Linked DNA regions of Homo sapiens: all the other regions are linked to region 3. The links are contacts of gene promoters, found by promoter capture Hi-C in blood cells and fetal thymus (Javierre and others, 2016). All regions are on one chromosome and are shown on one strand. The core of a region is centred on a gene start or on the middle of the fragment in contact, and the rest is flanking DNA. Distances in the headings are between cores, read along the strand shown. Region 1 overlaps LTN1 (listerin E3 ubiquitin protein ligase 1). Region 2 overlaps LTN1 (listerin E3 ubiquitin protein ligase 1). Region 3 holds the start of USP16 (ubiquitin specific peptidase 16).

Region 1 (3,282 bases), core at 343-2,842, 71 kb after region 3:
TATCTCAGCTATTGTGAATAGTGCTGCAGCAAATATAGGGGTGCAGATATACCTTTGATATACTGGTTTTCTAAATATTCAATGGGATTGCTGGATTGTGTGATAGTTCTATTTTTAGTTTTTTGAAATACTTCCATATCGTTTTCCAAAATGGCTGTACTAATTTGCATTCCTACCAATAGTATATAAGTTCCTATTTCTCTGCATTCTTGCCAGCATTTGTTATTTTTTGTCTTTGTTTTTTTAGAGATGGGGTGTTACTATGTTGCCCAGACAGGTCTTTATCCTGGGCTCAAGCAATCCTCTTGCCTCAGCCTCCCAAAGTGCTGCGATTACAAGCAGTGCCACCATTCCCAGCTTATTTCTTACCTTTTTGACAAGAGGCATTCTAACTGGGGTTTTGATTTGCATTTCCCTGATGATTACTAATATTGAGCATGGGATTTTTTTTTCCTTTCTTGCCGTTGAGTTGTTTGAGTTCCTTATATATTCCTTATGTTAGCCCCTTGTTGGATGAATAGTTTGCAAATATTTTCTCCCATTCTACAGATTGTCTCTTCACTTTGTTGATTGTTTCTTTTGCTGTGCAGAAAGCTTTTAGTTTAACATAGTCCTATTTGCCTGTTTTTGTTGCCTTCGCTTTTGAAGTCTTAGCCATAAAAATATTTGCCTAGACCAATGTCCTATAGCGTTCCTTGATGCTTTCTAGTTGTTTTATATAGTTTCAGTTCTTAGGTTTAAGTCTCTAATCCATTTTGAGTTGATCTTTTTAGATGGTGAGAGATAGAGGTCTGTTTTCACTTTTCTACATATGAATATTCAGTTTTCCTAGCACAATTTCTTGAAGAGGATGTCCTTTCCCCAATATATGTTCTTGGCATTTTTGTTGAAGACTTTGTCAATTGCCTGCAAATATGTGGATTTATTTCTGGGTTCTCTAGTTCTGTTCCATTGGTCTGTGTGTGTCTGTTTTTATACAAATACCATGCTGTTTTGATTCCAATGGTTTTGAATACTTTTGTATTTCATCGGGCTCTAATTTTTTTTCTGGCAAGTGGACGTTCAAATGTTGAACCCTAAGAGGACTTAGGGCCTCAGCAAATTTCCCTGTTTCAACAAATGGTTTAGAATTATAGGTGGTGGAGTGACTTTTACAAGATGGTATTAAAGGTAGAGAATTTGCAGAAACCCTGTATCAGTCTTGTTTGTAAGCCCTCAGCTGTAACACAGTTACTAGAAGGGGGAATATATGCTCTGTGGAAGAAAGTTGAAACACCTCTTTTGGGCAGCCACCTTCACATTTAGTTAAGGGAAAGGAAACAAGCCTGTAGTTTAACATTGCTCACAGGGTGAATCTGTGCAAATCCAAAACTAGTAAGTAGAGTAATAATTTTTTGTGTTACTAATTACAAATTGGCAATATTATTTCTTTAATTTTATCGAGCTCATTAGTCAGATATTATTGTTGTTTTTGTTACCATGACTTGATTAGAGCTGCTTAGCTGGTAAGTGTAGGATTAGATTTTGAACCAGGTCACAATGCTTCTGACTCCAAAAGCTATACATGGCTTTATAAAAGGGAGCTGTGACTGTGTATTAGAAACCTATGATATACCAGGCTTTATGATAGATACTTGGCCATTTAATTATCACAGCAGTCCTGTGAGGTAGTTCGTAGTATCCTAATTGATAACTATTTATATAGCTTGAGAGAGAGATGCAGATTTGAATCCACCCCAATCTGTAATTGAGGCCTCATGTCCTTTTACTGTATCATACTGTCTCCCATTTCTCCCATTTGCCATGAACTTCTCACCTCAGGTCTTGGGTCCCTTAGTTGTTTTTCCTGTCTGGAACTTTTTACCAATTGTGCCAAAATGGTAGGAAGATTCTTTCAGTATCTCTAGTAACTTAGGTTCTTGTCACATTCTTAACTAATTAGAAAAAGGACCAAGTAGAATTTGGGAAAAGGGTGGTATTTTGTATCAGACATATATTCTCAGTTTTCATTGTCCTTGAACATCTCAAAGCAGATTTGAAAAATCAGTTCATAGGAGTTTTGAGATGAGTGGGCACAACAGTGTTAGAAAACAAGGTGGAGAAGTGAAAGTAATTGAAGGGTTTGTTCACAGAGTGCTTTTCATAATTTGGTGCTGTCTCTTCTTTTAGTTGCAGAACTGCTTTATTCACTGCAGTGGTGTGAAGAATTAGATAACCCACCTATTTTTCTAATTGGATTTTGTGAAATACTTCAAAAAATGAATATTACGTATGATAACTTACGTGTACTTGGTAATACGTCGGGCCTTTTGCAGCTGTTATTTAACAGGTAAGAATCTCTTTCAATTTGTTTTTAAAATGACTATGCTACTTCTTTATGGCTTTGCCTTCTGTAAGAGGTAACCCTACTGCATGCTAATGTTTCAGTCAGAGGATTGATCTAAATAATTCCTATTCTTAATAATAAATAGTTTATGAATTCTAAATACTTGATTTAACCTTCTCAGGGGAAGATATTTGTATTCTGCCTGTCTTATTAAATCCATAAATACATACAAGGGTCAGATGACAAAAAAGAAGTAGAAGCTTGTAGAAGTTGTTTTGATTTATCTGTGACTCATCCTCCCAGTGCTCTCAGATTCATCCTTTATCTTACATGTTGTTATAGGTGTGTCTTAATGTTATGACCACAAAGCCCTCTCCCCTAGATTAGGAAGGCAGGTATGAAAACAGTCCTTGTAGAGGTTGTAGTAGTAAGATGTTTAGCTTTTTGAAATTACTGTATTGAACTGCTTTCTTTTTAGGAGTTTATCACTTGCCGATAGTATTTTGAGTATGCTTTGCTGTATCAGAGGACCCAGGCTTCCTTTCCAATCGCATTCTACTTAGTTGACACAACTTTCCTCAGAACCAAAGAACCTCTTTGATTGTTCAACTTAAGCCTGCCTAGGTGTCCTCTGGGAGATGTCTTTTTCCCAGCTACAGCCTCTGGTCTTCAAGCCTAATCTCTAAGATCATCTCCCCTATTGGGACTGAAGAGACTGTGGAGTTGCCTAGGGATGAGAGAGCTCAATACCAGCCTTGAAGGAGTGTTGAAAGCCGAAACTCTCAGCTCTTTGGATAATTACTGGCAGTTGCTTGGGTGCAAAGTCTTAGGTGAATTGATGCCATCACAAGGTGCTTTATTTAATTCTGTAAAAGGAATCCAGCTAGCCAGTGTTTAAACATTTTATTCAGTATGCTTTCAAAACGGAATATAATTTTTTTCTTTCCTTTTTCAGG
Region 2 (3,277 bases), core at 778-3,277, 87 kb after region 3:
GGCCTGTCACTTATTTTTGTGACTTAAGCTAGTTTTATTTGCTGATGATATATTTCAAGAGCTCCTTATTTGGCTTTTACATCAATTTCTTAAAATATTGTTGATCTTTAAAAAATAGCAGCAGATTGAGGCATTTGTGTATAAGAGTTTTGTTCTCATTTTATATTCAGAAATTAGGAAAATGGCCATGTGTCACCTTTTTCATTAAGCTGGGATTGGGTTAGGGTGCAAAATTATACGGCAGCATTTATTATTATTGAGTCTGAAACTTGAACTGAGCTGTGGGCAGATAAACCAGAATAACCCACTAAGTAATACTAATTAGATGAATCCTGAAATAAACAGAATTTTTCTTCGGAAAACTTTAAATGTTCCTAAATCATGGGTTAACTTTTTTCTCAAAAAAACTAGCAAATCAGATTGAACTGGAAAAAGTTGTATATGTACATGTGTATGTTTTTGTGTCTGTTTTATAAAGCTTTACTGAGATATTGCACATACCATAAAATTTACCCACTTAGCATACACAGTTTGGTGTTTTTAGTATATAGTCATCCCTTGATATCTGCTGGGGATTGTTTCCAGGCTCCCTCCCATGACCCCCACCCCAGCGAATACTCAAGTTCCTTATATAAAATGGCATATAGTATCTGCATCTAACCTATGCACATCTTCCTGTATACTACTTAAAATCATCTCTAGATTAGTTATCACTGATACAGTGTAAATGCTATTGAAATAGTTGCTATACTGTATTAAAGTTTTTAGTATTTTTATTGTTGTATTGGTTTTTTTAAATCACTTTTTTTGCCCCTCAAATGTTTTCAATCTGCGATTGGTTGAATTCTCAGATGTGGAACCCATGGAAGTGGAGGGCTGACTGTATTCACAGAGTTGTGCAACTGTTAACCACTATATAATTTTAGAACCTTTTCAACATCCCATTGTAATTGATAGCAATCACTTCCCATTTCCTCTCAAACCCCGCAGCTCCTGACAGCCATTAAACTGTGTTCTGTCTCTATGCATCTGCCTGTTCTGGACATTTCACATATCTGGTCTTTTGTGTCTGGCTTTTATTTTAGTATATTATTTTCAAGATTATCAAATTGAAGCATGTATCATAAGTATTGCATTTATTTTTGTGGCTGAATAATACTCCATTTTGTAGATCTATCACATTTTGTTTATCTATCTGTTTATCCATTAATGGGCATTTAGGTTGTTTCCTTTTTTTTGGCTATTGAAAATAAAGCTGCTGTGAACATTCGTGTACGAGCTTTTGTGTTGAAATATGTTTTCACTTGTGTTGTATACCTTGGAGTGGGATTGCTGGGTCGTATATGTGTGTTTTTAAAAGTCCATTGATATTGGTGATTAATTTTTTAAAAATCTCTAACTTTTTGTTTTGAAAAATTAAACAATGAAGTTGGAAGAATAATTCAATGGAAAATCACATACTCTTTTAGATAAAAAAGTTACATACATCTTTTAACATATTGCTACATTTGCACATACTTTCTCTGTATTTACTTTTTTTCTGCTGATCTACTTGAAAGTAAGTTGCAGATATTTTGATGCTTTACCAAAAGTATTTAAGCATATATCTCCTAAGATCACGGACATGTTTCTACATAAGCATAATATAATTTTTATACTCAAGAAATTTAATTTTGATGCAATAATATCTAATTTTTATTTAGATACTTTCAGTTGTCCCAGTAATATCTCTATAGTTTTATTTTCTTCTCTATTGAAGATCCAATCAAGAATCATGTTTGTATTTGCTTGTCATATTTCTTTAGTTTCTTTAACCTATAATTTCTATACCTTTCTTTTCTTTCTTGTCATTGTTTTGGCCAGCTGTTTTTAGCCTGTCATACAATGTGAATTTGTCTGATCGTTTCCTCATTAGATTGTGGTTAATTTTTAGCAATAGTACTTACTGCACAAGTTGTTATGTGTTCTCAGTGTCTTACCTCAGGAGCCATATAATGTCATTGTGTTCTTTTACAGGTTGAGTATCCCTTATCCAAAATGCCTGGGACCAGTAGTGTTTCTGATTTCAGATTTTTTCAGATTCTGGAATATTTTTGTTACACTTACTGGTTGAGCATCCCAGATCCGAAAATCTGAAATGCTCCAGGAGCATTTCCTTTAAGCATCATGTTGGTGCTCAACAAGTTTTAGATTATGGAGCATTTTGGATTTTGGATTTTCAGATTTGGGATGTTCATCCTTCATTAGTGATGTTAAGTTTGATGATAAGAGCACTTTGGTCAACATATTTTAAAAATCAATTCCAAATCCTATGACTTGATCCTTGTACTTAAGTATTCATAGTGTTCAGAAAATGCTATATTTTACACAAAGAAAGGATAAATGCTTGAGGTGATGAATACCCCACTTACCCTAGTACATATTATATGCCTATAAAATACCTCATATGCCCCATAAATATCTACTGTGTACCCACAAAAATTAAAAATACAAATTTTTTAAAAAGAAAAGGGAAAGAAAATGATATCTTTGTACTGTGAGGAGATATGTGATATAGTAGAAATTATCTTAAAACCAATACAGATACCAAAGAACTGCAAAGTCAATGTGGAAAATGCAAGCTACTTTATGGAGGGAAAGCAGGAGTTGTGAAGTACAGGTCTCACACAGATACCTGCAGTGCTCCCACTGGTGGCTCGTTTTTCTGTTTTTAAAAGAGAAATCAGAAATCCATATTTTTATGTGAAATTTCCTGATTGAAAAAACAACTCTGAGAAGACCCCCATGACATTTTGGACCACTAGTTTGTGCTCTCTGTCGTAAAGGGATGTCGGAGTTTTTGATACAGGGTGAGGTCAGCCATAAAAATGGGATTAGTTTTAAGCAGGAATTTGAAAGGTTAAGGGCAATGGTGTGGAAGGAATGTATGGAAGACTTGGGAGGAGAGTGAGGGAGTCATCTGTGGGAATGGTGAATAGATTTTCTTGTCTCAGACATTCTAAGCCAAGGTGAGTGCATTGTAATACAGGAAGACAATTTGAGAAAGATATTAGAAATGTGTTACAATAATGAGGGGATAGAATGTCTGCTAGTTTATGAGGAAAGGAAATTTGTTACACTTTGAGTTGTTCTTTTATACCAATTGTCTTGGTGTATTTGGTTTACTAACAAATTCTTTGCTCTCCACCAGCTTCGGGCTTTGTATTCCATGTATCTTCGGAAAACAAAGAGTTTGAATAAATTGCTCTATCACCTGTTCAGGCTTATGCCAGAAAAT
Region 3 (3,427 bases), core at 629-3,128:
AAAAAAAAGGTAAAATGCAGATGTTTGGGTTTCAAGACCACCACTTTTTACCTGCCAATCAAGTCTGTCTCTTTTTTTTTTTTTTTTTTTGAGACGGAGTCTTGCTCTGTCGCCCAGGCCGGAGTGCAGTGGCCCGATCTCGGCTCACTGCAACCTCTGCCGCCCGGGTTCAAGTGCTTCTCCTGCCTCAGCCTCCCGAATAGCTGGGATTACAGACGCCCACCACCACACCCGGCTAATTTTTGTATTTTTAGTAGAGACGGGGTTTCACCATCTTGGCCATGCTGGTCTGAACTCCTGACCTCGTGATCCACCTGCCTCGGCCTCCCAAAGTGCTGGGATTACAGGCGTGAGCCACAGCACCTGGCCAAGTCCTTCTCTTGTACTCCACTCCAAAACACTTTGTACCCTCCCCGCCTTGATGTCTTTGATTTCTAGCTGTAATATTCTATCTAAATCTTACCAATCTTGGAAGCTCTCCATTTCAAGGAAGCCTTAGACAATCATTCTACTCTAAATAAACCTCTCCACTGAACTTCCCCAGTATTTATGGTATGCTCTAGTCATCTTGTCCCCTTATCCCATATTCTAGTGAATTTCTTAAATCTTTAATCTGGGTTTATGTTATTTCTGTAAGCAGAATCTAAAGTTCTTAGAAAAATAAATGGTTTCAAGCACAGTTTTGGAACTGCCTATAATATCTAGCATAATGTTAGTACATAGCAGGTCCTGAAGAAATACTTCTTGCATTGAAATAGAAAAATAGAATAGTACCTGAGGCATAAAGGATGATTACAAGGTGCAAAGGTAGGTACATAAGAATGAAGCAAACAAGTTCTGGTGAAAAAGAAAAGGGTGAAAAATGAGAAGTCAGAAGTCTGCAGTAGTGAAGACAGCACTAGTAAATCTGGTTTGAGGATTGCAGCAGCTTAGACTCCATAGGAAAACTTGAAAGACGAATTGTTAATTACTGCAGGCAGAGGACAGAGGGGTCACTCCAGTGCTGCGGAAAGAGCCTCAGTAAAGTTCTGACAACTATAAAGGCAACTAATGAGTCATGAGGAGAGCATATTGTGACTTCCATCAGCTATAAAACATCAATAAACTTAATACACTTTTCAAGTAGTGTCATCGGATGAGCATTAACGTCTTAGTGAAATGACTCTTCGCAGGACTCCATACAAAATCTAAATCAAAGATAGTCTTGCCGGTTCTCATATTATTCCAAGTCTCTTCACTCTCTGCCCTCCCAGTCTTCCCCTGCCTACTCGGTTCCATTAAAAATGTAAGCGTGTGGAAAACTTTGTCAGCAGGTGTTAACGTGGCTTTCAAGTTTTGCGTATATCAATCCCCTCCTAGATATAGTCAATTGGATAAGTGACAGATCCTGCTTTTCCTACCAGCCGTATGAACACGGCTGCAAATCCAGCTCCAACCCATAGGGAAGTCCCTGCCACGCGCCACCCACCCATTTGCTCGGCGCCTGCCACACCTTCCCTCTCCTCCCCTTCTAACTGCTCCGATCCCACGGGGGAACCTCTGGGTCCACGGGGTCGAGAAGGCCGCCAGCAGCGGCATCTCATTGGCCAGCTTCTGGAACTGACAGAACATGCAGCCAATGAGATCGCAGTACCGGAAAGTAGCCGGGTTACGTGCTTAAGGAGAGCGGCCTTCAAGAAGAGAACGAAGTTGGGGCGGAAAACAGGAGCTCTCCCAGCGCAGAAAGCCAGGCGAGCGACGACTGCCAGGCAGTGGGACCAGAACTCACCCACGGCGACAGAGCCCATAACTGCATCCCCTCATGGGCCTTTGGGCTGGGCAGCCAGCTCCGTCTTCCTCCTGGTGACGAATTGAGAGCGACGGAGTCGAAGCCAGAGTGACCCCTGGAAAGCAATAACTTCCGGAACGCGGCATTATGGGAAGTGGCTAGGCCACCACCACCCCACCCCCACCTCCCGGGACCATCGGCTCTGACGCTAGTAAATCTGCGCCTGCGTGCGGCTTGCGCCGGATGTTCGGGTTTAGGGGTTTGGTTGTCAATGGGTTTTCTCGTCTCTGACATAACCACGAAGTTATATAAATGCTCCTGAAGTGTGGGCATCCGGTGGTGGTCTGAGCCTTGGAGTTTCCTAGATGGTTACCTTTCTGGAACACATTATATTTGGAGCTAAAAGGGGGAACGCTTAAATTTGTTTCCGTAATTCTGTCCTGTCGACTTCTAAAACTGAGTACCTAAGTTGTCTTGAATTTACCTTCCTGCACCATGTCAGAATAAAAAACGCAGCGAGTGATTTTTTGTTTGTTTGAGACGGAATATCCCTCTGTCGCCCAGGCTGGAGTGCATTCTTCTGCCTCAGCCTCCCGAGTAGCTGGGACTACAGGCGCACGGCACCACGCCCAGCTAAAATTTTTGTATTTTTAGTAGAGACGGGGTTTCACCAATTGGCCAGGCTGGTCTCCAACTCCTGACCTTGTGATGCGCCCGCCTCGGCCTCCCAACGTGCTGGGATTACAGGCGTGAGCCACCGCGCCCGGCCGCGAGAGTGAATTTTTAAAGCAAAACCGAAAGACGGTGTCAGATAAATTGCGGGGGAGGAGGGGATTTTCAAATATTTACTGTCCATTCTTTGAAAATTTGTAAGTGCGAGCCCTGGCGCGGTGGCTCACCCCTGTAATCCCAACACTGGGAGGCCGAGGCGGGTGGATCACGTGAGGTCAGGAGTTCGAGACCAGCCTGGCCAACGTGGTGAAATCCCGTCTCTACTAAAAATACAAAAAATTAGTCGGTCGTGGTGGCGGGCGCCTGTAATCCCAGCTATTCGGGAGGCTAAGGGGGAGAATCGCTTGAAGTCTGGAGGCAGAGGTTGCAATGAGCCAAGATCACTCCATTGCACTCCAGCCTGGGCAACAAGAGCAAAACTCCCTCTCAAAAAGAAAAAAAGAAAATATGTAAGTGCACACTTTGTGCCAAGCCTTTCCTCAAATGAATTAAACATAGGCCTCTCTGCCCTGGAGTCTTAGTTTAGTAGAGAAGATAGTAATCGCTACCGTGGGGGTCGGGGGAGTTGCAGATAGCTATAGAAAAATAGATATGTAAACAGGTAATTCACCATAAAAGAACAATTGGTCATAAAATAAATGTCCATCCTTACTAATCAGATAAAAGGAGTTTAAGATGGTGGCATACTAACCACCAGAGTAACATTTGGTTAAATTTGGGGGAAAACTAGCTCTCTTGCTTTTTACTGCTGAGATAATTTTTGTTTTATTTACTTATTTATTTATTTATTGAGACCGGGTTGCACTCTGTTACCCAGGCTGGAGTGCAGTGGCACGACCTCAGCTCACTGCAACCTCCACCTCCCGATTCTCCCACCTCACCCTCCCCAGTGGCTGGGATTATAGGCACGTGCCACCCCACCACACA

What was found. Contacts are between HindIII fragments. The CHiCAGO score rates a contact against its expected background, and 5 or more counts as called.
Region 1: a fragment that was not itself captured here is called in contact with the fragment with the promoter of USP16 in region 3 in 2 of 17 cell types (activated CD4 T cells and total CD8 T cells); the score reaches 6.5 in activated CD4 T cells.
Region 2: a fragment that was not itself captured here is called in contact with the fragment with the promoter of USP16 in region 3 in 2 of 17 cell types (fetal thymus and total CD8 T cells); the score reaches 5.3 in fetal thymus.

What each region holds. Positions count from the first base shown.
Region 1 is chr21:28,952,264-28,955,545 of GRCh38, reverse strand. LTN1 (listerin E3 ubiquitin protein ligase 1) reads left to right here. Exons shown (of 30, transcript NM_015565.3): 17 at 2,170-2,329; 18 at 3,282. Among named protein-coding and RNA genes, the nearest start is that of LTN1, 39 kb to the left of the region's middle. The HindIII fragment of the contact is 1,992 bases long and covers 597-2,588 here.
Region 2 is chr21:28,936,611-28,939,887 of GRCh38, reverse strand. It overlaps LTN1 (listerin E3 ubiquitin protein ligase 1), which reads left to right. Exons shown (of 30, transcript NM_015565.3): 26 at 3,191-3,277. Among named protein-coding and RNA genes, the nearest start is that of HEMK2, 53 kb to the right of the region's middle. The HindIII fragment of the contact is 3,093 bases long and covers 481-3,277 here.
Region 3 is chr21:29,023,119-29,026,545 of GRCh38, reverse strand. USP16 (ubiquitin specific peptidase 16) reads right to left here and starts at 1,878. Exons shown (of 18, transcript NM_006447.3): 1 at 1,769-1,878. RefSeq lists an enhancer at 1,613-2,002. The HindIII fragment of the contact is 4,939 bases long and covers 1-3,427 here.